Regions from separate parts of the Homo sapiens genome. Here all the other regions are linked to region 3. Evidence: promoter capture Hi-C in 16 types of primary human blood cells and fetal thymus (Javierre and others, 2016). All regions are on one chromosome and are shown on one strand. The core of a region is centred on a gene start or on the middle of the fragment in contact, and the rest is flanking DNA. Distances in the headings are between cores, read along the strand shown.

What was found. Contacts are between HindIII fragments. The CHiCAGO score rates a contact against its expected background, and 5 or more counts as called.
Region 1: a fragment that was not itself captured here is called in contact with the fragment with the promoter of RARS1 in region 3 in 3 of 17 cell types (total CD8 T cells, naive CD8 T cells and activated CD4 T cells); the score reaches 7.6 in total CD8 T cells.
Region 2: a contact is called between a fragment that was not itself captured here and the fragment with the promoter of RARS1 in region 3, in 1 of 17 cell types (naive CD8 T cells). The highest score is 5.4, in naive CD8 T cells.
Region 4: a fragment that was not itself captured here is called in contact with the fragment with the promoter of RARS1 in region 3 in 1 of 17 cell types (naive CD8 T cells); the score reaches 6.3 in naive CD8 T cells.

The regions. Positions count from the first base shown.
Region 1 is chr5:169,626,324-169,634,207 of GRCh38, reverse strand. No RefSeq gene overlaps it. Among named protein-coding and RNA genes, the nearest start is that of DOCK2, 7.0 kb to the left of the region's middle. The HindIII fragment of the contact is 3,172 bases long and covers 2,959-6,130 here.
Region 2 is chr5:169,605,418-169,612,519 of GRCh38, reverse strand. No RefSeq gene overlaps it. Among named protein-coding and RNA genes, the nearest start is that of SPDL1, 25 kb to the right of the region's middle. The HindIII fragment of the contact is 6,981 bases long and covers 1,463-7,102 here.
Region 3 is chr5:168,481,601-168,489,507 of GRCh38, reverse strand. RARS1 (arginyl-tRNA synthetase 1) reads right to left here and starts at 3,037. Exons shown (of 15, transcript NM_002887.4): 1 at 2,965-3,037; 2 at 772-906. The coding sequence starts at 3,009. RefSeq lists an enhancer at 7,778-7,887. The HindIII fragment of the contact is 3,317 bases long and covers 1,762-5,078 here.
Region 4 is chr5:169,561,802-169,569,054 of GRCh38, reverse strand. All of the region lies in intron 2 of LOC105377714 (a long non-coding RNA gene), which reads left to right. Among named protein-coding and RNA genes, the nearest start is that of SPDL1, 18 kb to the left of the region's middle. The HindIII fragment of the contact is 2,987 bases long and covers 609-3,595 here.

The DNA of each region.
Region 1 (7,884 bases), core at 3,295-5,794, 1.1 Mb before region 3:
TGTTTGTTTTGTGCTGCTATAACAGAATGCTACAGACTGTGTAATTTATGATGAACAGAAATTTATTTGGCTCACACCTCTGGAGGCTGGGAAGTTAAATATCAAGGGGCCAACATCCAGCAAGGGCATTTTTTTGCTGTGCCATCCCGTGGTGGAAGGTGACAGGGCAAGAGCCAGAGAGCAAGAGAAGCCCAAACTCACTTTTATAACAAACCCACTCTCACAATAACTAACCACTCCCTCAATAACTAACCCACTCCTACGATAACAACATTAATCTATTTATGCAGAGCCCTCATGATCTACTAATTACATCTTATTAGGCCCCACCTTCCAACACTGTTGCTGTATTGGGGATTAAATTCCCAACTCATGAACTTTGGGGGGGGTCACATTTAAACCATAGTGCTATTTAATTTGGTAACAAACAATACACACTCCACTGTGCCTTAGAAGCATGACATTTGGAGCCCACTATTCTTTCTTTTCTTTTTGACATGGTGGCTATAGCACTGGTAATTTTTTTAAATGTTACCATAGAGAGAGATATGCACTTTAAATGCTGTGGAGTTGTAATCTCATCCTCGTGATTAGTGGGTTGCTGGAGAGCACTGTGTAGCATTGAAAACACCATACACAGTCCTTGTTGCAAATAGTCAACTCTGCCATTGTAGAATGAAAACAACTATAAATGATGCATAAATGAATGAGCATGGCTGTGTTCCCATAAAATGGAATTTTTACTTCCTACAGTTTTCATATAGCATGGAATGTTATCTTTATTTTGATATTTTTCAGCAGTTTAAAAATGTAAAAACTAGTCTTAGTTCATGGGCCATACAAAAACATGCAACAAGCCAGATTTGATCTGTGAACCACAGTTTGCTATCTTCTGCTATACACAGTTGTGTTGTCTTCATAAACTTGTAGCCAGTTGATCTAAAATACACTTTTTTTTTTTTTTTCGATTTAGGTTTAAGCTTCTGACATACAAACAGGCAACTTCACATTAACAGTGTGGTAAAGTATCTGATGGGAGGCCAAGAGTAGGTGGTGGTGCCAGAAAGCAAATAAGATTGAACTTGAGGAGCACTGAAGTTTTTTTTTCCCCATTCAACTTGTGACACAACCTATAATAGGAATCTCTTCCTTAAATAATGTTAAACAAACAAATTCAGCATATTAAAAGAGTTGAAAAACTGCTTTCAGTTGAAGGAGATGAAGTTTAGAAATTTTGACTGAGGGTTAATTAACTTCTTAATGGGGTGGCTTTTAGTGCAGAAATCTTTAAACTTCATATGGTTAGGAGATGGCTTTTATGTTTCTGAAATATGGGCTTTTCATTACAGTTAACAATCCTATGGCATCATAAAAATTTTTTGGCAAGAGAGATCAATAGTCAAACATAAAAATCTGACTAAAACCACTTAAAGAATTTACAATAATCTTGGTCACACAATTTTATTAAACACCATCTGTCAGTTACTTGACTATTAGGTAGTACACTCTTGATGACTATAACTTCACATACATTGTGAGGGATGACTGTGGGTAAAAGGACATCTCTAGCCAAGATTTCTGTTAAGTTCAGTCCTGTGTGTCCAACTACCTCCTAGACATCCCCTCCCAGCCCCATCAATGTCTCCATATTTCAAAACCAAGCTCATATCATAACTGTACCCTAGACTTGTCCCTCTTCTGACTGTTTCTACCCAATGTTAACAGATGAAGTGACCAGACTGTGCTTTAATCAGGTGCTAGAACCCCATCTCCATCACTTACCTAGCTTTGTGGTTTGCAGCAAATTCACTGAACACTTTCTGAGCCCCATTCATTGAATACTTACTGCCTTTCAATCCCTGATTTAAACAGTTGGCATGCATTATCTCGTGTCATCCTAAAAGCAGCCCCATAAGACAGGTACCATTATTACCCCAATTTTACCCCCAATTTGCTAATCAGCAAACTGAGGCCAGAGAAATGAAATCCCTTATTGTAGCCAATATCCACTATGATTGCCCATGAGTGCATCATTACCCTTCACTTCACTCGGGTCAGAAATTTAACTCATCCTAATCTTCCTTTCATTCCAAATGATAATCTCAAAAACAGCTGTTGAATCTGCCCTCTTCCCCATCCCACAAACTTAAGATCTTCCTTGAAACTTGGATTAGAGATCCCTTCCTCCAACCTTGCCTCCTTCCAATCTCTTCTCCATGTTACTTCTGAGAACCTTTGCCCAAGTAGTTTTGGTCTTCTCAAGCTTCTGGAATAATCTAGGAAAAATATAAGCAAAGCAGGTTTGTAATAACGTGAGAGGTTTAACAACTTTTGTGAAATGTGAAATAAAGACATTCCACAGGAAATAACTATGCAAAGCCTCAAGTATAGCCCAAAGAAATCTAACTGGACTCATGGTTTAGGTAAATTGAAGAAAACTCTTTCCCTAAGGCACAGCAGAAGGGGAGGTTTCTGATGTCCATCTTTTTCAGAGTCATATGTATTCAGGTCCAAGATTTGGCTGGATTTCACTAGTATGCCTGTAATGATTACTAAATATTGGAATATTTCCATACAGTTGCTAAATAGCTATATCTCAAGACATTCGAGTGCCCTCCTCCCATTCTTGCGTCACTACAGTGCCTGTCAGCTTGTTCTGAGTAGTTCATGGGGGTGGGCCCCCTACTGCACAAGTCCACCAACACCCAGCCAGAGAGCTCCTGGGCCCAGATAGGAGAGAGGGCTACCCGGAGTTAGCATTGGCACGTCAGTAGGTAGATGCCTAGAGGCTTCTGGTGTCCCACTGACCTGTGTCCATCACATGGCTGCCTTTGGAAACTCCATCCTCCACAGTACTAGTCAACATTTTTCTCATTGTCTCTTCTTGTGTTAGCTGTTACAGTCATGGCAAATAGCCGAGTATATTCTCAGCAGCTCAGACAGTCGAGAGCAAAAGCTTGTACTTACCTAAATTTTACTCACCAAAGAGGAGTCCACATTCCGATCAGGACCATAAAAGACTCTCGGTAAGAAGGATATACGCTCCCAAAATCAATTAGTTACAGTAAAGGAAGGAGGCCCAACAACAAAGATGGCATGTAGATAAGTAGGCATTCAAATAATTCTGCCTTCAGTAACAGACAAAACTCTAGAAGTGACTGTGGGAGTGAGGGTTGGCGATAGGGAGAATCAAGAGCTTTCCTGCTTACCTAGAGTTTGCTCTATCAGATGAATGTTAATAGCCTCATCCAGGTCACTGCGAATGTCACTAATTCATTCATTTTTATGGCTGAGTATTATTCTATCATAAGTATATTCTAAGTGAAGTAACTCAGGAATGGAAAACCAAACATTGTATGTTCTCACTCATAAATGGGAGCTAAGCTATAGGATGCAACGGCATAAGAATGACAGAATGGACTCAAGGGGAAATGGTGGGAAGAGGGTGAGGGATGAAAGACTACAAATAGGGTGCAGTGTATACTGCTCAGGTGATAGGTGCACCAAAATTTCACAAATCACCACTAAAGAACTTATTTATGTAACCAAACACCACCTGTTTCCCAATAACCTATGGAAATAAAGTATATATATATGTATATATATTTAAAAATGTTAATAGCCTCAAGCCCACTGCTAGTTAATGCTGTAGGCATCTGCCGGTGGGATCTACCTCAACTGTGAGACTAAGACGTCAAGGCCCAGATTAATATCTTTCAGTGCATCCTTCAAATACTTTTGCACACTATTTAAAAGTCTTAAGAATATTATGCAGGGCCATCATTCCCCCCGACAGCTTCATTTCCTGCCTCCTCTGCCCCTTCTTACACCACCTCCCTGCACCACACCCACAATCACCCTACACTCTTACAAGATGGTGCTGTTTGAAGTTTCCTAGAAGTGCCACAATTCTCAGATCTCTGTGTGCTGTAGTCCTTCCTCCAATAGGAATACCTCTTCTTGCCCTCTAGGTTAAGTAGTTCTGGGAAGATTTACTTGGTGACTCCCCCCACCTCCCAATTCCCCCTCCAGTTAGACAACCCTCCTGCGGCAGCCCATGCTCATGAACTACTGGTCTGTCTAGTAGTCGCAATGGCTCTTTCTGCAAAGCTGCCAAGGCTCATACTGGGTGCAGTGACATCAGCCCTGCTCCTTTTCCACATCTCGTTGGCACTGACTCATCTAGAAACAATGATATTTGACAGGGGCCAACTACTAGCAGTCCAAAGGCCAAATCTGGAGGGTGACATATTTGTTTAACAAGCATATTTTATTTTACAGTTTTTAATGTTTTTAAAAATTGCCAGCAATTAACAATCAAGAGATTTTACCTGAACTTCTAGATTTCTAGTCTCTCTCTAAATAAATGTAGACACTGCATTTCCACAAGGCAGTTTCAGCTGGAGGCAGCTTCAGCAGCTGTCCTTGAGTTTGAACATGCACTCTAGTTGCCACAATCTCCAATGCTGAGGCCAAATTTCAATGGCTATTTACCATTGTGCTTACACAGTTGTTTTTCTTAAGATAAAAACAAAAATGAAATACTGCTTGGCCCTGTGTTCTATCAAAAGTGGGAAAATAAGAGAGACTGAAAAGATATATGTTTCAGGAAACATGGGAGAGGGTGTATATATTTACAGATGTGAAGAATATTCTTAGATGTAGGTCTACATAGAACAAGTTCTTCTTAAGTTGCCATAATAACAACAAACCCAGTTTGCTTCATTCATTTAAGTTACCTGCCTAGTCCCCATAGACACTGAGTTGAGACCTTGGTGGGTGTATTACAAACGAGAAAGGCCAACAGTTTCTGGCCAATAAGGAGGCTTTGTATTGGGTGATAGCAAACCAACCCAGTTAGGTCTTCTCATTTCAGAAGTATAAATAGTAGACATTACTGCAGAAAGCAAATTACTTGAGCCAAGAGCGCCTCTTGAATAATCTCAATCTCTTGATTTTTTGGAGAAATCAATTATCTGGTTTAGAAAGAGACAATAGATTCCTCATAAGCCTTCATGTTCTAGCAATAAGCCTCCAGTCATCTGGGTGTATCTCTTCTCTAAGTCCAATACACATCTGCATGCCATGTTGTAATTGTGGCTTTACTGGACTTCCACCCATTCCTAGAGGCTGAGTGCTCCTTCATTCCACAAACGTCTATGGAGAACTCATCATGTGAAAAGTCCTGAGGATATATCTTGGGGAACAACACAAACAAGATTGCCACTCTCATCAATCCTGTAGGCTAGAAGGGAAGGCAGAAAATCCATGTACATAATACATTTTAATAAAGAAAATAAATTGTATAAAGAGTACTGTGGGAGAGTGGAAAAGGGGATGGTCTGGGAAGGGCTGTCTGAGAAAGTAATAGTTAAAAAGTGACCCTTGAGGAATCACCAGACTGTCTTCCACAATGGTTGAACTAATTTACACTCCCACCAACAGTGTAAAAGTGTTCCTATTTCTTCACAGCCTCGCAAGGATCTAGAACCAGAAATACCATTTGACCCAGCAATCCCATTACTAGGTACATACCCAAAGGAATAGAAAACAGTCTACTATAAAGACACATGCACATGTATGTTTATTGCAGCACTATTTACAATAGCAAACACTTGGAACCAAACAAAATGCCCATCAATGATAGACTGGATAAAGAAAATGTCGTACATATACACCATGGAATACTATGCAGACATAAAAAAGAATGAGTTCATATCCTTTGCAGGGACATAGATGAAGCTGGAAGCCATCATTCTCAGCTAACTAACGCAGGAACAGAAAACCAAACACCACATGTTCTCACTCATAAATGAGAGTTGAACAATGGGAACACATGGCCACAGGGAAGGGAACATCACACACTGGGGCCTGTCTTAGGGTGGAGGGCAAGGGGAGGGAGAGCATTAGGACAAATAGCTAATGCATACAGGGCTTAAAACCTAGATGACAGGTTGATAGGTGCAGCAAACCACCACGGCACATGTATACCTATGTAACAAACCTGCACCTTCTGCATATGTATCCCAGAATTTAAGTAAAAATATTTTTTTAAAAAGTGACCCTTGGGAAAAACATGTTCCTGGGAGAGGCAAACACATTTGTATAGATCCCAATGGGAGAACAAGCTTACTGTATTTAAGAAACCAAAAATGGCCTGTGTCATGGGTGTGCAGTGACCATGTGGTAAAATTTAGGTTGGAAGTTAGATAGGAACCAAATTACATAAAACCTTGAAGATCACACTAAAGAGTTGGAATTTTACTATAAGTGTACTGGGAAGTGAGAAAGACAGTCAGGTGCTGGCTAGGCCCTTACAGGTAGGCTGTGATATTCTCCTATTGAACATGAACAATTTCTCATGTTGAACATCAACATCAGGCAGCGCCAGCCTGTGACTGTGACGAATCTAGACAAAAATAAGACAACTCTGTAACCATGAGTGATCATAGACAAAACATGAACATTGTCCAAACCAAAAATGACCAGATGTCATTATTCTGTCATGGCTAACGTGAATGACTACTGATTTTTCCTTTTAATCAGTTTCAGGCTTAGCCTCATTCTAGTCTTCCATTCTTCTAGATGAGATGTATTAAGTTACCTAATCACAGAATTAACACTGCCTTCTTAAACACTACCCCAAATCACATAACACAAGTCCAAGACCTATCCATAGTAAAGTCCCTTCTAACATACTCTTACTGGAACACCCCAGGACTCCCCATGGTATGCAGCCACAAGCAATAAACCCAACTTTTTTTTACTGCAGGTGCATTGCTGGTGGTCTTTAGGTGGAAGGCATTGACAATGTCACTAGAGGATTTTAAGCAGGAGGTAATATAATCTTTTTAAAAAATTATTTCAATTAGAAAACAAATTCTATAGGTCAAGAATGAAAGTAACAAGGCCAGTAAGTGGTTCAGCATCCAGGGAAAGATGATGGTGGATTGGACCAAATGGTAGGGGCTCAGCAGTCAAATGCAAAATATATTTCAGAGATGGTATCCATAGGACTTGCCTACCAAGGAAATGAATATGTAGATCAAGTAGGCAGCCAAAGCCAAAGACCCAAAAATAAAGTAGCCAAAATAAGATAGAAGTCCAATTCTTTTCTGCATAGTTGGTATTGCAGTTCTATGACATTGTGAAGGGTGAAGGCTCCTTCTTTCTTGCTATTCCATTATCCCCCAGGTTCACAATCATTATGTGCATGATCCACAATGACTCACCACCATATTTCCATTCCAGTCAGCAGAAAGGGAGTTAGAGGGAAATAACAGCATGGCTCAGAATAGCACTCAACACTTTTGCTCACATTCCTTTGGGCAAGAATTGGTCCCATGCCCACATCTAGTTGCAAAGAAGTCTGGAAAATAAAGACATACCTCAGATATACTGAAGGTTCAGTTCTCGACTACTGCAACATAAAGCAAGTCACACAAAATTTTGGTTTCCCAATGCATATAAAAGTTATGTTTATCCTATACTGCAGTCTATTAAGTGGCAGTAGCATTATGTCTATGAACACAGATAATGTACATACCTTAATTTAAAAATACTTTATTGCTAAAAAATATTAACAATCATCTGATCCTTCAGTGAGCCATAACTGTTTTTGCTGGTGGAGGATCTTGCCTCAATGTTGATGGCTGCTGACTGATCAGAGTGGTGGTTGCTGAAGATTGGGGTAGCTGTGGCAATTTTATTTTTCTTTCTTTCTTCCTTTGTTTTCTGAGATACAGTCTTATTCTGTTATCCTGGCTGGAGGGCAGTGATGTGTGATCATGGCTCACTGCAACCTTGGCCTCCCAGGCTCAAGCAACCCTCTTGCCTCAGCCTCCCAAGTAGCTGAGACTACAGATATGTGCCACCATGCCCAGC
Region 2 (7,102 bases), core at 3,704-6,203, 1.1 Mb before region 3:
CCCTAATACCAAAACCAGGAAAGGACATAAGCAAAAGAGAAAACTAGAGTCCAATATCCCTGATGAACATAGATGCTGAAATCCTTAACAAAATAGTAGCTAACTGAATCCAACAACATATCAAAAAGAAAATCCACCATGATCCAGTAGGTTTCACACCAGGGATGGTTTAACATACGCAGGTCAGTAAATGTGATACACCACATAAGCAGAATTAAAAACAAAAATAGACGATCATCTCAATAGATGCAGAAAAAGCATTTTACGTAATCCAGCATCACTTTATGATAAAAATTCTCAGTAAAATCAGCATACAAGGGACAGACCTCAATGTAATAAAAGCCATCTATGACAAACCTACAGCCAACATAATACTGAAAGTTGAAATCATCCCCTCTGAGAACTGGACCAAGACAAGGATGCCCACTCTCACCACTCCTCTTCAACATAGTATTGGAAGTCCTAGCCAGAGCAATCAGACAAGAGAAAGAAATAAAGGGCATCCAAATCAGTAAAGAGGAAGTCAAACTCACTGTTTGCTGATGATGTGATTTTTTTTACTTAGAAAACCCTAAAAACTCCTCCAGAAACCTCCTAGAACTGATAAAAAAAATTCAGCAAAGTTTCCAGATACAAAATTAATGTACACAAATCAGTAGCTGTTCTATATACCAACAGGGACCAAGCTGAGAATCAAATCAAGAACTCAATTCCTTTTACAATAACTGAAAAAAAAAAAGAAAAAAGAAAAAGAAGAACAACTTAGGAATATACCTAACCAAGGAGGTGAAAAATCTCTATAAAGAAAACCACAAAACACTGCTGAAAGAAATCATAGATGACACAAACAAATGGAAACACATCACATGCTCATGGTTGGGTAGCATCAATATCGTGAAAATGATCATATAGCCACAAGCAGTCTACAAATTCAATACAATTCTCATCAAAATACCACCATCATTCTTAATGGAATTAGAAAAAACAATTCTAAAATTCACATGGAACCAAAAAAGAGCCCGCATATCTAAAGCAAGTCTTTTCATGGTTTCTGAATAGAAGTCTGATAGAATTCTTATCTTCATTTGTCTCTAAGTAAGGTATTTTCCCCCCCCTCAGGCTTCTTTTAAGATTTTTTTTTGTCTTTGATTTTTTGAAGTTTGAATATGATAAACCTACATGCAGTTGTAGATTTTTTAGTATTTATCCTTCTTGGTGTTGTTTTGAGCTTCTAAGATCTGTAGTTTGGTATCTGCTGTTAATTTTGGAAAAATTTTAGCCATTATTATTTTAAATATTTTTTCTGTTCCTTTTCCTCTCTCTTCTTCTTTTACTAATCCTATTACATGTAATGAAATGTAGACCTTTTGTAATTGCTTCACAGTTTTTGGATATTCTTTTTTTTTTAAATTTGTTCTTCTCTTTTCAGTCTGAAAAGTTTCTATTAACATATCTTCAAGCTTACTTGAAGATTCCTTCCTTGGCCATGCCCAGTCCTTTGATCATCAAAAACAATCATCAAAAGCATTCTTCATTTCTGCTACAGTGTTTTCGATTTCTAGCATTTCCTCTTGATTCTTTCTTAGAGTTTCTCTCTCTTGGTTTACATTACCCATCCATACTTGACTGCTGTCCACTGTTTCCATTACAGCTCTGGGCATATTAGTCATAGTTATTTTAAATTCCTGACCTGATCACCTAAAATTCCTGTCATATTCGAGTCTGCATCTGATTCCTGCTTGATTCTCTACAGTGTGTTTTTGCCTTTTGGTATGCCTTGTAAATTTTTTTGAAAGCCAAACCTAATATATTGAGTAAAACGAAGTGATGAGTTTTTGTTTATCTGGCTAGGGTTTTGGCTGTGTTTGTTTGCCGTAGCTATGGTTTAAGCCCAGTTTTTTGAGGGTTTTATCATGAAGATATGTTGACTTTTTTTTTTTTTTTTTTTTTTGAGACTGAGTTTCACTCTTGTTGCCCAGGCTGGAGTGCAATGGCGCGATCTCAGCTCACCGCAACCTCCGCCTCCCAGGTTCAAGCAATTCTCCTGCCTCAGCCTCCTGAGTAGCTGGGATTACAGGCATGCACCACCATGCCCAGCTAATTTTTTTTTTTTTTGTATTTTTAGTAGAGATGGGGTTTCTTCATGTTGAGGCTGGTCTCGAATTCCCGATCTCAGGTGATCCGCCCACCTCAGCCTCCCAAAGTGCTGGGATTACAGGCGTGAGCCACCGCGCCCGGCCGATATGTTGACTTTTATCAAATGTTTTTACAGCATCAATTGAATTGAATTTTTGTTCTTCATTCTGCTGCTAAAATGTTATCACATTGATTGATTTGTGTATGTTGAACCATTCTTGCATCCCAGGGATAAATCCCATTTGGTCATGATGAATGAACTTTTTAATGTGTTGTTGAATATCCTTTTTTGGGCTATTTTAAAAATAATTCATTGTGTAAAAACTTGGGTTTGCTGCTGATAGCCTTTTGAACTCTACAGCCTGTGGCTGGGGGAGAGTCATGCAAGCACTCCCTTAGCTGCTTTGGCTGGTGTCCTGGTAGGTCATGTGCCCCCCAGTCCACTGGCTCTGAGTCCTGCTCAGCAGCAGGACTCACGTAGGAGTTGCAGTCCTTGTGACCTAGTCTGAGTTTCAAGTTGACTTAGGATGCCAGAATACTTTAGCCTGGTGGTGAGGCTTGTCGGAACTCAAGTTCTGGCTGCTTGGATATGCAACTCCCCTCTGGCTAGAGCTAGTATATATGCTCCCTCTGTGGGTGGGCACCAGCTGAGTTACGCTAGTTTTGCTTTCCACTGTGACAGAGCAGCACTGAGTTTAACGCAAAGTCTAATAATTGCTGTGCTTTTCCTCCCCAAGCACACAGATCCTTTTCTCTGTGCCATGTGGAGGATGGCAGAGAGGAGGAATCAGCAATTCAAGACTGTCTTTCCTACCCCCTTCAGTGCCTCTTTCAGTAATATGAAGCTAAAATCAGGTACTCTGAGTGCTCACCTGATTTTTGTGATTTTTAGTTGTTATGAAGGTTCTTTTTTTGTGTGTAGATAGTTGTTAAATTTGGTGTTCCAGTGGAGCCTTCTATTTGTCATCTTGCTCCCCACCCTTCTGCGGGATATCTTTTTACCCACTAAATAGTGTCATTTGATGCACAAAAGTTTTTAATTTTGATGAAGACCATTTTACCTATTTTTTCTTTTGTTGCTTGTGCTTTTCATGTTATATATAAGAAATCATAGTGAAATCCAAGTAACAAAGATTTAGCCTTATGTTTTCTATTAAGGGTGTTATAGTTTACTTCTTACATTTGGATCTTTGATTCATTTTGAACTTATACTTACATATGAGGTGATGTAAGGGTCTAACTTCATTCTTTTGCATGTGGTTATCAAGTAGTTCCAGCATCATTTGTTGAAGAAACTCTTCTCTCCCCATTAAATGGTCTTGCTACCATTGTTAAAAATCAATTGATCATACATGTATAGGTTTATTTCTGATTTACTTATAGTCTCATTTATTTCTCAATTATATTCCATTATCTATGTCTATCTTTATGCCAGTTCCACACTGTTTCGTTTCTTGTCTCTTTACTAAGTTTTTAAATAGGAACATGTAAGTCCTCTAACTCTGTTTCTTTTTTTTTTTTTTCAAGATTGTTTTGGCTATTGGGGTCTCTTGCAATTTTGTATAAATTTTAGAATCACGTTTTCATTGGGGTTTTGATAGGAATTGTATTGAAGCTGTAGATCACTTTGGGTATCCCCTGCCAAAATTCATATTTCAAAATACGAACTCCCAATGTGATGGCATTAGGAAGTGGTGCCTTTGGGAGGTAATTAGATCATGAGGGCTCCACCCTCATGAATGGGGTTAGTGCCCTTATAAAAAGACACACAAACTTATTCTCTGTCTCTGCTCTTCAGCATGTGGAAGATACAAGAAAATTGCCATTTGCAGACCAGAAAGTGAGCCCTCAGCAGGTACTGGATCTGCTGGCACCTTGATCTTGAACTGTCTAGCATTCAGAACTGTGAGAAGAAATGTTAGTTGTTTAAGCTATCCGGTCTACAATAATTTGCTACAGCAGTCCAAACTGACTAAGACAGAAAGTATTGCCATCTTAACAATATTAAGTCTTTCAATCCATGTACATGAGATATCTTTCCATTAATTTAGGTCTTTAACTTCTTTCAATAATACTTGGTAGTTTTCAGTGTGTTAAAGTTTCACTTCCTTGGTTAAATTTATTCCTAAGAGCTTGTTCTTTCTGGTGCTGCTTAAATAATTTTCTTAATTTCATTTTCTAATTGTTCATTGCTAGTGTGTAAGAAAACTAGATTTTTATATGTTGATTTTGTATACTGCAACTACTGAAATCATTTATTAGCTCTAATAGATTTTTGGAGAATTCTTTAATATTTTCTATGTGAAAGATGATGTCATCTGTGAATATAGATATTTTTACTCCTTCTTTTTTGATTTGGATGCCTTTTGTTTCTTTTTCTTGTCTAACTGACTTGGCTATCAATTTCAGTACAACGTTGAATATAAGTGTCAAGATAAGACATCCTTTTCTTGTTCCTGATATTACGGGAAGAGCTTTCAGTCTTTTACCAGTATGATTTTTTCATACTTTCATTATTTTTTTCATTAATGCCCTTTAATTAGTTTGGAAGTTCCTTTCTATTTCCAGTTTGTTGAGTGTTTTAAAAATCATAAACATATACTGGATTTTTTCAAATGCTTTTTCTGTGTCAATTGAGGTAATCATGTCAGGGGTGTTTCCCCCTCTTTGTTCTGTTACTATGGTGTGTGTATTGGTTCAAATACTATCCCCCCAAAATTTATCCACTCAGAACCTCAGAATGTGACCTAATTTTGAGTATGGTCTTTGCAGATATAATTAGTTAGGGATCAAGATGAGATCATACTTAGTTAAGGTGTCCTTATAAGAAGAGGAGAGGACACACAGAGATGGAGATGTGGGCTGTGTGAAGACAGCCAGACATTGGAGTGATGGCTAAGAATGCCAAAGATTGCTGGGAGCCACCAAAAGTAGGGAAATATTTCTTCTCTATTGCCTTCAGTGGGAGCAAGACCATGCCAACAACTTGATTTCAGACTTCTAGCCTCCAGAACTATAAAACAGTACATTTTTATTGTTTTAAGCCATTCAATGTGTGGTAATTCATTTCACCAGAAACTAATACAGTATATTACATTGGTTTTCCTGTTTTAATTTACCGTTGCATTCCTGGGACAAATCCCACTTGGTCATGGTGTATAATTCAGTATGCTGCTGGATTGAATTTGCTAGTATTTTTTTTATAGATTTTTTGCATTTATATTCATAAGGGATATTGGTTTGTAGTTTTCTTCTGATGTCTTTGGCTTTGGAATTAGGACAATACTTTCCTCATAGAATTAGTTAGGAAATAATCTCCTTTGATGTTTTGGAAGAGATTGAGACATACTAGTTTTAGAAAGATAAGCTCTTTTTTAAGTATTTGGTAGAGTTCACTAGTGCAACCATCTGGTCCTGAGCTTTTCTTTTTGAAAGTTTTTTTGATTACTGATTTGATTCCCTCTTTTAAAGCTCTATTGAGTTTTTTTTTTATTTCTTCTTGAATAAGTTTTCGTAGTTTGATTCTAGGAATTTGACTATGTCATCTAGTATACATAATTTGTAATTGTTTATAGCGTTCTCTCATAACCCCTTTTACTTCTATAAGATTGACAGTATTGTCCCTACTTCCATTCCTTATTTTAGTAATTTGAGTCTTTTCTCCTTTTTCCTTGATCAGTCTAGCTAAAAGTTTATTAATTTTGATTTTTTCAAAGAACAAACTTTAGGTTCCATAGATTCCATTGTTTTCGTGTTCTCAATTTCATTTGTTTTTGTTCTCATCTCTTATTTTCTTCCTTCTGCTGGCCGTGGATTTAGCTTTTTAGTTTTCTCTTCTTGTTTTAGTTCCTCAAAGTATAAAGTTAGGTTATTAGTTTGAGAGCTTTCTTTTTTAAAATGTAGGCATCTCCAAATATAAATTCCCCACTGAGGGCTTTTGCTTTCGCTACACTTAACAAGTTTTGTTATTGTTGTGTTTTCATTTTCACTCATTTTAAAATATTTTAAAATTCATCTTCAAAATATTTCCCTAGTGATTTCTTCTTTGATTCATCTGCTGTTTAAAGAGTGTATTGTTTTATTTCTACATAGTATTTGTGAATTCTCCAGATTTTCTTGTTGTTGATTTTTAATTTCATTCCATTGTAGTCGAGATACTTTTTCAACTTTTAAAATTTATTGAGACCAGATTTGTGGCATAACATTGGTCTGTTTTGCACAATGTTCTGTGTACACTTAAGAAGGTGTATTCTCCTTTGGGTGGAGTATGCTACATATTTCTTTAGGTCTAATTGCTTTATAGTGTTATTCTGAACGTTTCTGTGAGGATGTTTTTGGGTGAGATCAGCATTTAAATCAGTGGACTTAAAGCAGATTGCCTTCTCTAATGTGAATGGGTTTCATCCAATGAATTGAAGTCCTAGATGGAAAGACTCACCTACCCCAGCAAAGGGAAATTCTGATGCAGACAGCCTTTGAACTTGAACTGCAGTGGCAGTTATCTCCCTGGGTCTTTAGTGTGATGGCTTTCGGACTTGAACTCATCAGCTCTTCCCTTCCCTGGTCTCCAGTCTGCTGGCCCACCCTACAAGTTTGGACTTGCCCCCACAACCATGTGAACCAATTCTTGAAAGTAAATCTTTATATACACACACATCCTATTGGTTCTATTTCTCTGGAAAACCCTAATTCTCCTACCTATAGAATATATGAAATTGTTGTAAAACTATAATCATTTAAATGAAAGAGTATTTGGAAAGTTTAGAATTAAATCTATCTATCTATCTATCTATCTATCTATCTATCTATCATCTATGTATGTATATATGCAGATGCTCCTTGACCTACAACGGGGTTACAATTCGATATACCCATAAGTTGAAAATATTAAGTCAAAAATGCATTTAATACACCTAACCTAATGAACATTATAGCTCAGCCTAGCCTGCCTTAAATGTGCTCAGAA
Region 3 (7,907 bases), core at 1,788-4,287:
ACCAGGTGGAAAAAACCCCAAATGATTATGTAAGATATAAAACTGTAAAATAACCAACTTAGGGCAGAGAAAATATGCAGGTGTATTTTCAAATATTTCCTTTATGATAGAGGCAATGATTTAAAAATCAAACATGTTTTTTTAAAAAAGGCATGGGCATAAACTGTTGAAAGAAATGCCTCAACCTTGCTGGGTGCAGTAGGTTATACTTGTAATTCCAACACTTTGGGAGGCCAAGACAGGGAGGGTTGCTTGAAGCCAGGAATTCCGAGGCCAGCCTGGCCAACACAGCAAGACCCCATCTCTATTAAAAAAAAAAAATTAGCTGGATGTGGTGGCACACGCCTGTAGTCCCAGCCACTCAGGAGGCTGTGGTGGGATGACTGCTTGAGCCTGAAGGTTGAGGCTGTACTGAGCCGTGATGATGCCACCACACTCTGGCCTGAGTGACAGACACCCTGTCTCAAAAAATAATAAATAAATTTTTAAAAAGAAATGCCTCAACCCTACCTAAATCCTACTTTAAGTTAGCCAAACAGTTAGCAGGATGAAACATTTCAAAGAGTCCTGAAGGACAGGACAACACCAACTTGTCACTATTTGCACCAACTACCTCAGTCCTAAGTTGTCTAATGCAGGGAAAAGAATAGGGTTTCTATGCTTCTTTTCCAAATTCCATAGGATATACTTCCAGAATCTTTGGTAACAAAGGCTTTAAAAAAGCTATAATGATTCAAACTGGAGAATAAAACTGGAACCCAAAGTACTCACCTTTCGAAGAATATTCAGTCGATACTTTAATTTTAAATTTTCTTCTTGTAACTGCTCCAAATTTGGAGAAGCTCCTAAACAGCCACAGTTTTTCAACCGGTCAATTTCAGCAGTCAGAGATTTAATCTCTTCTTCCTGTGGGAAAAAAAGCACTTTTTTCAGTCCATAAACTTACTTCCACATTTCCCCTCTCTACCAAGGCGTGGCATAGACCATGGGAATCATTAATGTTCCCTTTGATGAGCTGTGTTTCTTTCTCCTCTGAGATTTTTGCTGACGTTAGCATATTATCCTTAATAAGAAAATATTGGCCAGGCATGGTGGCTCACGCCTGTAATCCCAGCACTTTGGGAGGCCTAGGCAGGTGGATGACTTGAGGCCAAGAGTTCAAGACCAGCATGGCAAACATAGCGAAACGCTGTCTCTACTAAAAATACAAAAATTAGCTAGGCATGGTGGCGCATGCCTGTAATCCTAGCTACTTGGGAGGCTGAGGCAGGAGAATTGCCTGAATCCCAGAGGCTGAGGTTGCGGTGAGTCGAGATCGTGCCACTGCACTCCAGTCTGCTTGACAGAGCGAGACTCTGTTTCAAAAAAAAAGAAAAAGAAAAAGAATATATTAACCACACATACATGTGTTTTGGGAGACAGGAATCGGAGTAAGTATATAATGGGATATGCCTCATGTCTCATATCCCTAGTTCTTTTCTTTGGCTCGATAAACACTCTGATTTAGCAAGAGTAGTTAAGTTTCAGGTTGACCAACCTGCTTTTATTCCCAAATCCTATGACCTGGGACTCTTAAAAAACCCAAATGTCCTTTGTCACATTCAAAATAGCTCAAGGGTCTGCCTTTCACCCTTTCTGGGACTAAACAATTTTCCCATTTCTTCCTGTTTCCAGTGTCTTAGGTCCTAGACTAGACCAGACCAGGCTTTGTAGTTTAACATCTAAAACTAAAGACATGTCAATTCAGAAAGAAATAAAGCTTCCAACTTAAACTGCAAAACTCAGGGGGAGTTCCTCACCTGAAATTTCAGAATACTTACTGGGAGATAGCTACAGCCAAAACCAAATTGCCAAAAATGAGCATACATTATGTTCCAGGAGCTGAGCTAAAAACACTTTTCAGAAATTACCTTCATGATTATCACAACCAAGTGAGGCAAAGATAAATACATACCGATAAATAAATGGCTCAGAAATGTAAAGAGCTTGCCAATTTACTTGACTAACTTGTACTTTGTGACTGCTGATTAAGTATACAGCCGTAACAGGACAGAGTACTGTGAACTATCTTCCTACCATCCCTCCCCACCTGGGCATAAAAGGTAATGGAACTGTTCCGCTTTCACTTTTTTTTTTTGTAGGGGGACGGAGTCTCACTCTGTCGCCCAGGCTGTGGTGCAGTGGTGTGCTCTCTGCTCACTGCAAGCTCCGCCTCCCGGGTTCACGCCATTCTCCTGCCTCAGCCTCCCGAGTAGCTAGGAATACAGGGACCCCCCCCAACACAGCCGGTTAAGTTTTTTTGTATTTTCAGTAGAGACGGAGTTTCACTGTGTTAGCCAGGATGGTCTCGATCTCCTGACATCGTGATCCGCCCACCTCGGCCTCCCAAAGTGCTGGGATTACAGGCATGAGCCACCGCGCCCGGCCGCTTTCACTTTTATATGGTGTGGCTGCTCCTTCCCGACGAATGCTGAGGGCACAGAGCAAGCTCCGCTGGTCTGATAATGAATCACCCCATGGGCTTATTAGGAATCCTCTCGCTCAGTAACCCGGGAAGAACTGCGGCTGAGCTGCAAACCAAGACCCAGAGCTCTGAATGTATTCCCCCCTTGTCTATCTCCCCGCATCCCCTAAATCGCGTGTGTATGCAGAAGAGGAGGTGGATTGTAGGGAGAGAACTGTTCTGAACATGCCAGGCTCCAGCCCACCGAAGACGCTGGTTTGGGGGAGGCCTGGGAGAGGGTGGGGACCCTCCATTCCGCTGAAAATCACAGTCACACGGGCTTTGAAATGATGGGTGCTTCCTCTCTCAACCCTTCCTGTTCCCACAGGGACCGTGCCGCTCCACTCTGAGAGGACCAGGATGGTCCTCGCCTAGCTGTCCCGCCCCCGAAGCCGCTTGGGCAGGAGTCAGAGCCTGCTCCATCTCTTTCAGGCCTTCCCGCCGGTCTCCTGCGTCCAAACCTGCTGCAGCAGCCGCGCGGAGCACTCAGACACCAGTACGTCCATCCTCCCATCAGCGTCTCACTCGCCAAGTGGACGGAAGCGGAAACGGTCAGCCTCTCCCGGAAGCGGAAACCCCCTCCGGTCCGCTGTCCCGTCGGACTGGGTGCTGGCGCCTCTGCTGCCTCCTGGCGGGATCCAGTAGACACTGCGAGGAGAACCCGCGGGGATTTCGGTCAGGAGCGAGGCCGCAACTCAGGGACGTTTGGGCGAGGGGAGAGGAATTGAGCAGACACTAACCAGAGCTGCTCTGTGCTTGGATAGACTAGGACAGTCACTGACCTAGAGCTTCTGGCTCTCAAAGGCCTCACTTTGCCCCTTTGTGAAATGGGCACAAAACTAACAAATCCATTCATTTATTCAACAAACATTTATTGTGTACTTTAAAATGCCAGACAGTATTCTAGGCTCTGGGGGCACAAAGAAAACAAAACAGACACGATCTCCCCTCTCACGGCAGACACATTTTAGAATGGAGAGAGAAAATAGACCAAAAAAGGCAATAATCTCAGGTAGTTTTAATTGCTAGGAAGGCAATGTGATAGAGTGACTTGGGTGAGAGAAGACATCTCTAAGCAAGTGACATTTGAGTTAAAATCTTATTTATTTTTCCAGTTTTATTGAGGTATAATTGACAAAGATTGTATATCATAACGATGTACAACGTAATGTTTTGATATATGTATACATTCTGAAATGATTACCACAACCAAAATAATTAACATAACCTTCATCTCATACAGTTATCATTTGCATGTGTGTGTGTGTGTGTGTGTGCGCGCGCGCGCGCGCGCGTGTGTGCTGTGAACATTTAAGATCTATTCTCATCCTGGGAAACAGCTAAGACCTCGTCTCTACAAAAAAATGGAAAAATAGCCGGGCATGGTGGCATGTGCCTGTAGTCCCTGGTATATAGGAGGCTGAGGTGGGAGGATCACTTGAGCCCAAGAATTTGAGGCTGCGGTGAGCCATGATCATGCCACTGTACTCTGCCTGGATGACAGAGTGAGACCTTTTCTCTCTCTATTTAAAAACAAACAAAACGAAACGAAAACGAAAACTGCAAGTATACAATATACATTACATCTCTAGAATCTATTCATCCCGCCTAACTGAAACTTTGTAACTTTGAGCAACATCTCCCATCTTTCCTACCTCTGAAGCCCTGACAACCACCATTCTATGCTCTGCTTCTATGAATCTGAATTTTTTAGATTACACATATACATGGGCTAATGTAGTATTTGTCTTTCTGTGCCCGGCTTATTGCACCAACATAATGTTCTCCAGGTTCATCTATGTTGTCACCCATAACAGGGTTTTCTTTTATAAGGCTGAATAATATTTCATTGTATATATATTGAGTTAAAATTATAAACAGCAAACCTGGGATATATGTTCTAAGAGGGCAGGGACCTTAATTATCTTGTTCACTCTTCTCTATGACTCCAGAACTTAGAAAGTAGCACTCTAAACGTTTTCGCTTCCGTGCCTCATAAAAGTATTTTAAAAATTCATATCCCAGTGTATACTTTTAAAAGTTGACATCGAGCTAGGCACAGTGGCTCATGTCTGTAATCCTAGCACTTTGGGAGGCTGAGGCAGGCAGATTTCTTGAGCCCAGGAGTCCAAGACCAGCCTGGAAAAAATGGTGAAACATCGTCTCTACCAAAAATACAAAACATTAGCCAGGCATGGTGGTGTGCACCTGTAGTCCCAGCTATATAGGAGACTTAGGAGGCAGGATTGTTTAAACCCAAGAGTTTGAGGTTGCAGTGAGCCATGATCTGGCCACTGCACTCCAGCCTGGGCAACGGAGTGAGACTCTGTCTCAAAAAAAAAAAAAAAAAAAAAAAAAAGACATCTAAAAACTCTTTTCACAACTTCTGGGAATGGATTATTTTCTGGCATGATGTTTCATAAGTGCTCTCACTATATTTTCGTCAAAACTGTGGATTTGCAAGTTTAGCTTGTCCAATTTATGGAACATGTCGGCCATATTGTTTCATTGGCAAAGCCAGTCCTCTTTGTCCAATTAAATAATCCAAATTATTTTACTTAATTTTTAACAAGCTTAAAGTTTGCCTTTATCTTTTTTCCTTTTAAATTAATTAATTAATTTTACCCAGAACTATATAAACTATCCTTTATTTTGTAAATCAAATAAAAGTGTTAATATACCAGTCCTTCCTTATCCGTGGGAGATACATTGCAACACCCCTCAGTGGATGCCTGAAACCGTGAATAGTACCAAGCCCTATATATATACTATGTTTTTTCAATCCAGTAATTCAGAGGGCTAATAAGTGACTAATGGGTGGGTAGTGTAGACAGCATGAATTTGTTGGGCAAGGGGGGATTCATATCCTGGGCAAGACAGAATGGGACGGTGGAGATTTCATCATGCTACCAAGAAATGGCATGCATTTTAAGACCTATGAATTGGTTATTTCTGAATTGGTTATTTAAGCCTATGAATTGGTAATTTTCCACTTAATATCTTGAGCACATAAGTAGGGGGGACTACTGTGCATGTTCCTGAAATGGCATTTGCAAAATTATGACAGTAAGAGAAATTTGACATCTTGCTTCACAGGCTGTCTGTCTTTGCTCATTTCTGGGCATGGGCCAAGCTAACTTTGTGGAAAATTTAGTTTATAGTTGAAATGATATTAGCCCTTCCCCAAAATCAAAGTGTTCTTGTAAAACTAATGCAAGGCAACTAAACTATGAGAATGAGAGGGACTTGAATTCTAAATAATTGTCAGCCATTATTCTGGAGGTCAGATTTGCAACTTCTGCAATAACTCTTGCAGATAACATTACTATTGTAGAACCTAAGATTGGCCTTTTGAGATGTCTTTTCAGGTTTGTGCATTTCTGACAACCGGGTGGCCCCACCTGGACCCACCAGTCAGTCCTGTGGCCCCTACCCAGGAACTGACTCAGCACAAGAGGACAGCTTCGATTTCTTATGATTTCATCTCCAACTCAACCAGTTAGCATGTTCCCTACCCTACCCCACTGCCCAGCAAACTATATTTGAAAAACCCCTAACCTAGGAGCCTTCAGGGAGATTGATTTGAGTAATAACTCCGTCTCTTACACTGTGTGGCCAGACTTGTGTCAATTAAACTTTCTTTATTGCAATGCCATGGTGCCCATGAGTCAATTTTGTTGTGCAGCAGGCAGGAAGAATCCACTGGGTGGTTACATCACTCTGATACCTTATTTCTAAGTTCTGAGAAAGATGGAGGGAGGGATGGACAAGCTGGTGGATAGACAAAGGGATAGGCAGATAGATCTCTATCTTCAAGATAAAGGAGGAAATAAAAACAGTCAATCATTTTACTAAGCCCTCTTTGTTTAGCGCTCAAGGATATGCCCTGTGGAAAAATAGGTTCTTCAATGAGAACACTTGGACACAGGAAGGGGAACATCACCCACCGGGGCCTGTTGTGGGGTGGGGGGAGGGGGGAGGGATAGCATTAGGAGATATACCTAATGTAAATGACGAGTTAATGGGTGCAGCACACCAACATGGCACATGTATACATATGTAACAAACCTGCACGTTGCGCACATGTACCCTAGAACTTAAAGTATAATAAAAAAATATATCTATATATATATATAAAGAAAGTGTTTTCAAAAAGAAAAGGAAAAATATGTTCTAGAAGTGTCCCTTGTTCAATTCCTGTTAGTTTACACCCAGGCAATGTGGAGTCCTAATTTAGGGAGGGGGAGTTGGGCTGGTAAGGATGAAGGAAAGCAAAAAGAAAAGGCAGGTAAGCTATAAGTCTACCTTTCTTCGTGGTTCAGGATACATAGTCCTCCTGTGCAAATTACTCACCATCTTCCTGCACCCAGCTATTACCAGACACCTCAGCTGATAGAAAAATGCAAGTTAGCTCACTGCAACCTCAGCACTATCAGTACTGCACAAAGCCCTCTTAACACACAGCCCAAGCACCATTCTGTCAAATCCCGAGCAAACGTTTGTTTCCTGGCAGTCAGCTCCTCTCTTGCTGATTTGCTTGTTGCACCCTTGCAACATACTTTCCTGCTTTGTCTAATAAATCTGCCTTTCTTTACCTACAACTGTATTGATGAATTCTTTTTACCACCTGCGTGACACGGGCCCCAGAGAGTCGCTACCCACGACAGGCAATGGAAAAGGGTGCTATGCTTTTCTTTGTGGAAGGGGAGATGTAAAAGGAGAATTGGAAAACTGAGTTTGCAGGCCAATCAATTTTAGAAAAGAGTATACAAAAATTCAGGATTTCCCTAGTATATCTGGGCCCACAGATCCCTTTGAAGGGTCTTCCCAACTGTGCTATATGCACCTCAGGGTACAGGACTTCCAAATCTCCCAACCAAAAAAAGGGGGGAATTGGGTACTAGCCCAGGTGGAGAGACTGGCAAAAGTGAGAGCATATAGGAATTTGTAAGTTGTACAGGACTTCCTGTACCCCGAGGTACGTATAGCCCAGCTGGGAAGACTGTTCATCTTGTTGACCTAAAGGAAGAAACTGAAGCAAAATTAATATAAGTAGAGAGTCTATTTGGGCCAGGGTTGAGGTCTACAGCCTGGGAGTCATGGATTCAAGTTGCCCTGAATATATGCTCCGATTAGCAGCCGTTACAAGTGGATTAAAGATTAAAAAAAAGATGAAAAAGTTAGGATGCAGTTCCTAAGCTGCTTACCAAGAATTTACAATGGTTCATTAAAATAAGCTATCATTTGTCTATACATTGATCTTTGTACCACAAACCCCAGGAACGTGAAGATAATAGGTGAGGGTCACATTGTGTAACTTGTGGTAACATTGTGGGTAATTTATCAGCTAGTCTGAAATTACAGAAAACGAAAGAGAAAACAAAATGCCTCTAAGCAATTACCC
Region 4 (7,253 bases), core at 853-3,352, 1.1 Mb before region 3:
CATTATTTTAACTATGAATTCTTCAGCATGTAGCTGTGGAAGATTGTTTTCAAGATGACCGCAGTGATTCTTCCATGAGCAGCCCCTTTGCAGTGTGACTTTGCAGCTCATCCCATGAGGAAGTAGTCTGTTTCTCAACAACTTTGAATCTGGGTTGGCCTTGTAATGCACCTTGACTAATGAATGTGGCAAAAATAATGTGGGATTCTAAACCCATGCCTTGTAATTCCTAGGCAAAAGAATCGTCTAGCTGAACCTAATCCATGTTGCTGACATTACCAATTCATAAGTAAATAACACCACTAAATTTTGAGTGGTTTACCGTGCAGTGACAGCTAGCTAACATAGTAATGTGTTTTTTAAAATCCCTAACCTGGATCTTTATATATAACGAACATGAAACTTTTAGCTTCCTGTCCAAAGGACTGAACTCACAAGGCATGAGACATTTTATAACCCTGAGGGTGAGTGTCAGTAGCTGGGGTTTGTGTGGAAGTAGTATTCCATGACATTCATTCTAACCAAGAGCCTTCTGTGGCTGAATTATATATTCCAGCTCAAGTTCTAAAGGATACTGATCCTTGGTCTAAGATGATAGTTCCTAAGCTTTACTGGGTTACAGTCTCCTTTGAGAATCTGATGAAATCTATAAGAATTCTTCCCAGAAAAAATAATGTACATGTACACAGCCCCCTTGCTACACACACACACACACACACACACACGCACACACAGATCTCTATCTACCTATAGATTGTGTGTGTGTGTGTGTGTGTGTGTGAGAGAGAGAGAGAGAGAGAGAGAGAGAGAGAGAGAGGCTTGCTTATATCATAGGGTTTATGGACTAGCCAGTGCATGGATACCAGTTAAGAAACTCTACTGGGTGCTGTGGCTCAAGCCTATAATCCCAGCTACTTGGGAGGCTTAGGTGGGAGGATCACTTGAGCCCAGGGGTTCAAGACCAGCCTGGGCAACATAGCAAGACCCCTTTCCTTAAAAGAAAATTTTTTAATTGGCTGGGTGTGGTGGTGCATGCCTGTAGTCCCGGCTACTTAGGAGGCTGAGGCAGGAGGATTGCTTGGGTCCAGGAGTTCAAGGCTGCAGTGAGCTATGATTGTGGCACTGCACTCCATGTACTCCAGCCTGGGCCACAGAGCAAGACCGTCTCTTAAAAAAAAAAGGAGAAGAAGAGAGGGAGGAGGATGAAGAAAGCAGAAGAAGATGAAGAGGAAGAAGGAGAAGGAAGAGGAAGTAGGAGGAGGAGAAGAAGAAAGAGGAAAGAAGAAGAAAGAAGGAAGAAGTAGGAGGAGGAGAAGAAGAAGGGAAGAAGAAGAAACAAGGAAGTAGAAGAGGAAGAGGAGGAGGAGAGGGAGTGGGAGGAGGAGGGGAGGAAAGGGAAGGAGAAGGAGGAGAATAAACTCTGGTCTTACTTGAGCAGACCTCTACTTGTATACCCAAAATTGCATACTCAACTCTAACTGCCAAATAATCTGTTTGCCAGATATTTATTTCCATTGCTGTTGCTGTTGCAGCTACTTCTGAAAGAGGAGTAACTGTTGGTATGGGTTTCTGGCTGCATTTTAGGTTTAGGGTCTAAAACCTCCTTGAGCAGTGCTTGGTTTAACCAGATTTGGTTCAGGGTCTTTTGAAGCTCTGGGTTCATTCTTCCACCTCCCACCCCTTGACCTTCATTTAACCCAAGCATTGAGCAATATAATGCTCAGGAAGTTAGTTGGCAGCTGCCAGCAGGACCTCCGCAGCTGTACCTTACCATGCTACTGGCGCTGTCCAATGTGCTGGATCCTTCCACCATGTCTTGGCCTGTGTGCTTCTTGAAGATTTCAGTTGATAATTTATTGGCATAGGTAGGCTGTAAATATTGCCTTGGTTCATATTTTATCACTGCTTGATTGCTGTCTAGGCTCTTTATTTACCACACATTAGTTTGTTCATGGTCCTATTGATGGAGAAGGCTAGCCCTTTGGCCACTGAGTCTATACCTTGCTAATACCCCATAGGGCCAGAGGTCTCCAGGAATAGGTGAAGGTGGAAGGAAGCAAGAATATGTTGAGGACAAGAGAGGCAGCCCCAAACTCAGGTGAACTGAGAAGTTGGAATGCCTCTAAGATTGATATTAAAGTAACTTTATTGTTCAAAAAAAGAGACAAATGAAAGTCATAGATTATTAATAAACCTACAGTAGTACCCACCCCACATCACTGTCTTTCCTCTTACTTTGCTTTAGTCTTTGTAATAGCACTTACCACCTTGCATAACAATGCATGTTTTTGTTGTTGTTTGACTTCCTTCATTATAATGTAAGCCCTATTAGACCATGGGCTTAATTCACTGTTCCATCTCCAGAACAGTGGCTGGCACATTGTAGGTGCTCAGTAATTATTTTAATTACTCTTTGAACAAATGGATGAACAATCGAATGAACTGAAGGTACTAAATGGGTATTTTCCAAAGTTTTTTTTTCAAAATTTGTGCATGTAAGAATCTCCTAGAAAGGGCCTTTACAAGATGGAGCTATCTGGGATATATCTTTAAAGACTCATCTTTAGTGTCTGGAGGATTAAATTCCAGAATTGGATATTTAAGCTCTTTGAGTGATGCTGAGGCAAGTGGTCCTAGGAAAGTTGAAAAGTTGACTTATGTGATTCATACCCCCACAAAGATGCATACCAGGAATACTTAGCAAAACAGTAGTCTCATTTTTTCTCCTTGACAATTCAGGGCATGTCAAAATAATAAGTCGAATATAATCAAAATAAAAAATGATCAAATAGATAACTCAGTAACTCATTCTCATTTAAAATAGCTTTCTTCTGTTTTTTTTCCCCACATCTTTTTACTATTCCCTTTTCATAGACTTTTCTAAACAGATGCACATCTCACAAAGGCTGAAAATTCCTCTTAACCAGCTATTTCTTTCAAACTGAGAAAAATTTGGTAGCAGTCATTGAGAATGCAAAAAGAAATGTTTGGAATATTGTCAGACTCCCTTTTGCTGTTGGACTCTTTAATTTAAAGGGCATATAAGTCACCTGACCCCTACAACAAAAAATCCATTAAGCCTCTAAGGACACAATCAAATGATTCATTAAAAATATGAATGATTGGCTGGGTGCAGTGGCTCACGTGTGTAATCCCAGCACTTTGGGAAGTTGAGGCGGGTGGATCACCTGAGGTCAGGAGTTCGAGACCAGCCTGGCCAACATGGTGAAACCCCGTCTCTACTAAAAATACAAAAAAATTAGCCAGGCGTGGTGGTGCATGCCTGTAATCCCAGCTACTCAGGAGGCTGAGGCAGGAGAATCACTTGAATCCGGGAGGCGGAAGTTGCAGTGAGCCGAGACCACACCGTTGCACTCCAGCCTGGGCCACAAGAACCAAACTCCATCTCAATGTATATATGAATGATTAAAAAACACTTAGAAAATTTTAAACCTTTTTACATATTAAAGAAACGTGAATTAAAAGAGTAATGAGAATTCTCACTGCTGGTTTGGCAAAAATTAATGTCTAGAATGGGAAAATAGACCTTCCTTTACCCAAAAACAGGCAATTCCTACATGGCTTTGAACAAGCTTTCTAAAGAGCAGCTTGAAATTAATTGTCAAAATTTAAAGTGTGGATATCCTTTGGCCCAACAATTATATTTGAGGGAATGTATCCTTAGGACATTATTTGACAAGATGTATTTTCAAGGATATTAATGGATGGGCCATTTATCAAATCAAATATTTTAAGATAATTTGAATATCTACCAATTCAAGATTAATAAAATTAGTTGACATATTTCCATACAATAAAACTGGCTGACATTTATAGAGCTCTATTATTTGCCTGTCACTCTACTAAGTGCATTACAAGGATTAACTAGCTTAATTTGCACAACAATCCTGTACATAGATAGTATTATTATCTCATCTTAAATATGACAAAATTGAACCACAAAGAAGTTATGCAGCTGATAAGTGGTCACGTTAGGGGTGACACCCAGATGGTCTGGGGTGATCTGTGTTCTTAACAATGATACTTCATAATGGGATATAACACAGCAACCATATGCAGAGGGAACGAGGATATATTCGGTAGATGAAAGCAGATTTCAGAAGAACTTAGCATAGTTACGGAAAGAACAGAGTGGAGAAAGGAAGAAAATGTGCAGAACGCTTACAAAAAATGTTTTGAAGGGAATATACCAAATATGTAGGGAGTTACTTTTAGATGACTTTCACTTTCTTTTTATGATTCCCTACAATCAAAAATTCTTGTTAAATAAGCTTATATTTCTTTTACAATTAGAAAATATATTTTTTGAAAATCAGCCAACTGCTAGCCTTAATGTATTTTGGCAAACATTGAGGCAGTCTTTCCTGTTTGACTCAGTTGGTACTGGTTTTTCCTGCTAACATTTCCTATAAGCCAGTGCCTTCAAAAATCTCAGTTACTCAATAGTTTAATGTTGGCTCTATGTCCGTATTTTAGTCAAACCCTACCTAGATAACTATCCTGGGAGGTGTAATGAAGGAGATGTGTAGGGATATGAAGATATAATACAGAAATTATTGTGGTAGACATGGTTTCTTGGCTGACCCAAAAACCATAGAAAAGACTGGGATTTCCACAATTCAGGCTGGAGAAGCAAAGTCATAGGCACTTTGGACCTAGAGTTGGTCATATGACACATGAAACCAAAGGAGTTGGCTGCTGCAGGAGCTTCTATAAAATACTTTTTTTTTTCCCCATATAGAAAGATAAACCTGGATGGCACTCCTCCTGCCTCTACTAATCTTCCAGCTCTTCAGTCAGTCATGAGGATATGATTTTTGCAGTTGCGGCAGCCAGTTTGTGAACTTGAGGTGACAAGATAAGGGAAAGATCAAGGGATAGGCAAGGAATAGGCAAGGGATATGCTGACCCTAACATTGTGATGCTGCTGAGCAAAAGCCAGCTAAAGTCTACCTCCAGGCTGCTTGTTACGAGAGAAAAATAAAGCCTTATTTGTTGAAGCCACTGTTTACTTTCTCATTAGTTGCAGCCATGCATATGCCCAATGGATACAGTGCTCAAAATGCTCAGATATTACTCTTTCTTGAATTCAAGCAAATGTTTTATATCTTCCCTTGCAAGGAAATATTGTTTGAATCATTTTTAGGAAATCTAAAAGACTAAAATTCAAATTTAGAGTTCATCTGTTTAACTTTTTTTGACATGCAAAAATTAGTATTTAGGGAGAATAAAGGATTGCCACAGGGTTATAAGACTAGTGGTTATTTTCTCAACAGCAAAATTTTGCATGAGGACACCTTCAGGTGGCTATTTGTGTTGTCTACAAGTCATAAGCCATAAGAGTTATGGTATATGATGTACAAGATGATGGATAAGAACATTCCACAGCATCTCAATAGATAAACTTACTGACAAGAAATATGTCTGCTCCTTACCCTGAGCATGGGAACTGCTGGCTGATGGATTCACAGAAGATATGAGTGTAAGAATGCTTGCCTGGGTGTTCTGGTAGCTGTTCTTCATCATAAGCACTTAAGGAGTCATTTTGTTGGATGATTTTGGTCACTGATAGAGGCTGAGATATGCAAGTCGATGGCAGTCAACAAAGCAATGACCTCATTATTTTTGTCTAAAAGGCCAGCTCAATCCCTGCTGGAACATCTTTTTGGGATTTCTATATCACTTATAGCTAATGGGTCTAGCTTTGCCACTTACATTTTTAAAATGTCATTTTAGAATGAAGCTTAAAAAGGAAGTGGGAGGTAGCTGAGGGTATAATATAGAACCCTATCCACCAGGTGTGTATTCTAATCACTTCATTTAAATGTGCATGAAGGAGCCACATCATAAAATGACCTGAAAAATTAGACCATAGAGCTATATCCTAAACACTGGTGATTCAGGTCTCAGCTCATAAGTTACCTTCATTGGCACATTCCCTGATCTCTCAATCTGATGCAGTCCCACAGTCGCTCTATGACATCACCTATTTTAGTTTCTTCTTGGCTTTTACCATCATCTGGTGATTGTTTTATCGATTCTGTTCTTTGCTCATTGTCTCTCTCCCCTCTAGCACTTGAGAGGTAGCAGGACCCACTTTGTCTTGCTTGCTGTAGCATTCTGAGTGAAGATGTCAGGCCCCAGACTAGAAGTTCCATAAATGTTTGTGGAATGCACAAAAGATGATCATGATATTCTCTGTGACAACTTTGGCTACTTAGGTGACTACGTTGTCTTTTAAGGGTGGGAGGGATGATAGATTACCTCTCTTCATTTTCATTGGTATGTCAGACAAGCACTTGTGCACCTTAGTCCAAAGAGTTACAATATAATTATGTAAAAAAATGTGGGAGCGATTAGAATTGGCACATGCCTCAATCACAAATTCATATTTGCCCATGTGCATGTATGTGTGTGTGTTTATGTACATATACAGCTCAGGTTAATTTGTTTTTGCCTGAGTGGCCAGTGGTCTTGTTTACTGAGAAAAAGATATATATTTAAATTGTACCAGAATTTTATAGATATTTTCACATTTCACTGAGTAATATGTTATACAGATATTTTCACATTTCACTGAGTAATATGTTATACAGATATTTTCACAACCTACAATTGATCCTGTGCTCTACGCATGCATATGTATTGGTCGGTGAGCCCAATATAAAATGCACTGGAAACAAGGCAAGCATTAGCCTAGCTTAGGAAACCTGCAGCACGATTGATTGGAAGGAAACCTAGGCATATATGCAACCACTACATAACTAGAAGAAGAGCTTGACACTGAGCCCAAGAGAAAAGAGCCCATAGAGAGCCCCAGAGCTCCCCACCCCACTCTCAGGATAGAAAGTCATGTGGGACGTGGTGTAGAAAGAGCCTTATTCCGCTCCAAAGAGCAGCTAAGCTGCCAGCAAACTAAACTTTAGGAGTAAGATAAAAACATTAATTACAGATGTCAAGATTAGAGTTTGCTTTTTCTGCAAATTCCATGGGGTCTCTAAGCAACTTGATCTTTGAATCCCTGGGGTACTAAAAATCTACAGAGAAGAGATTGTTATCTTAATGTTGCAAAATCCCCACCTTGAGTGCTGCCAAGTAAAAATCCAGCTTAATGACACAAAGTAGAAGGAATATTTCTTGTCTTTTCTTTCTTTAAAAGAGGACTGACATTCAAACACAATTTAAGCTGACAATTATAACTGTAAAATTCTTCCAAAATTCTATGAGTATAC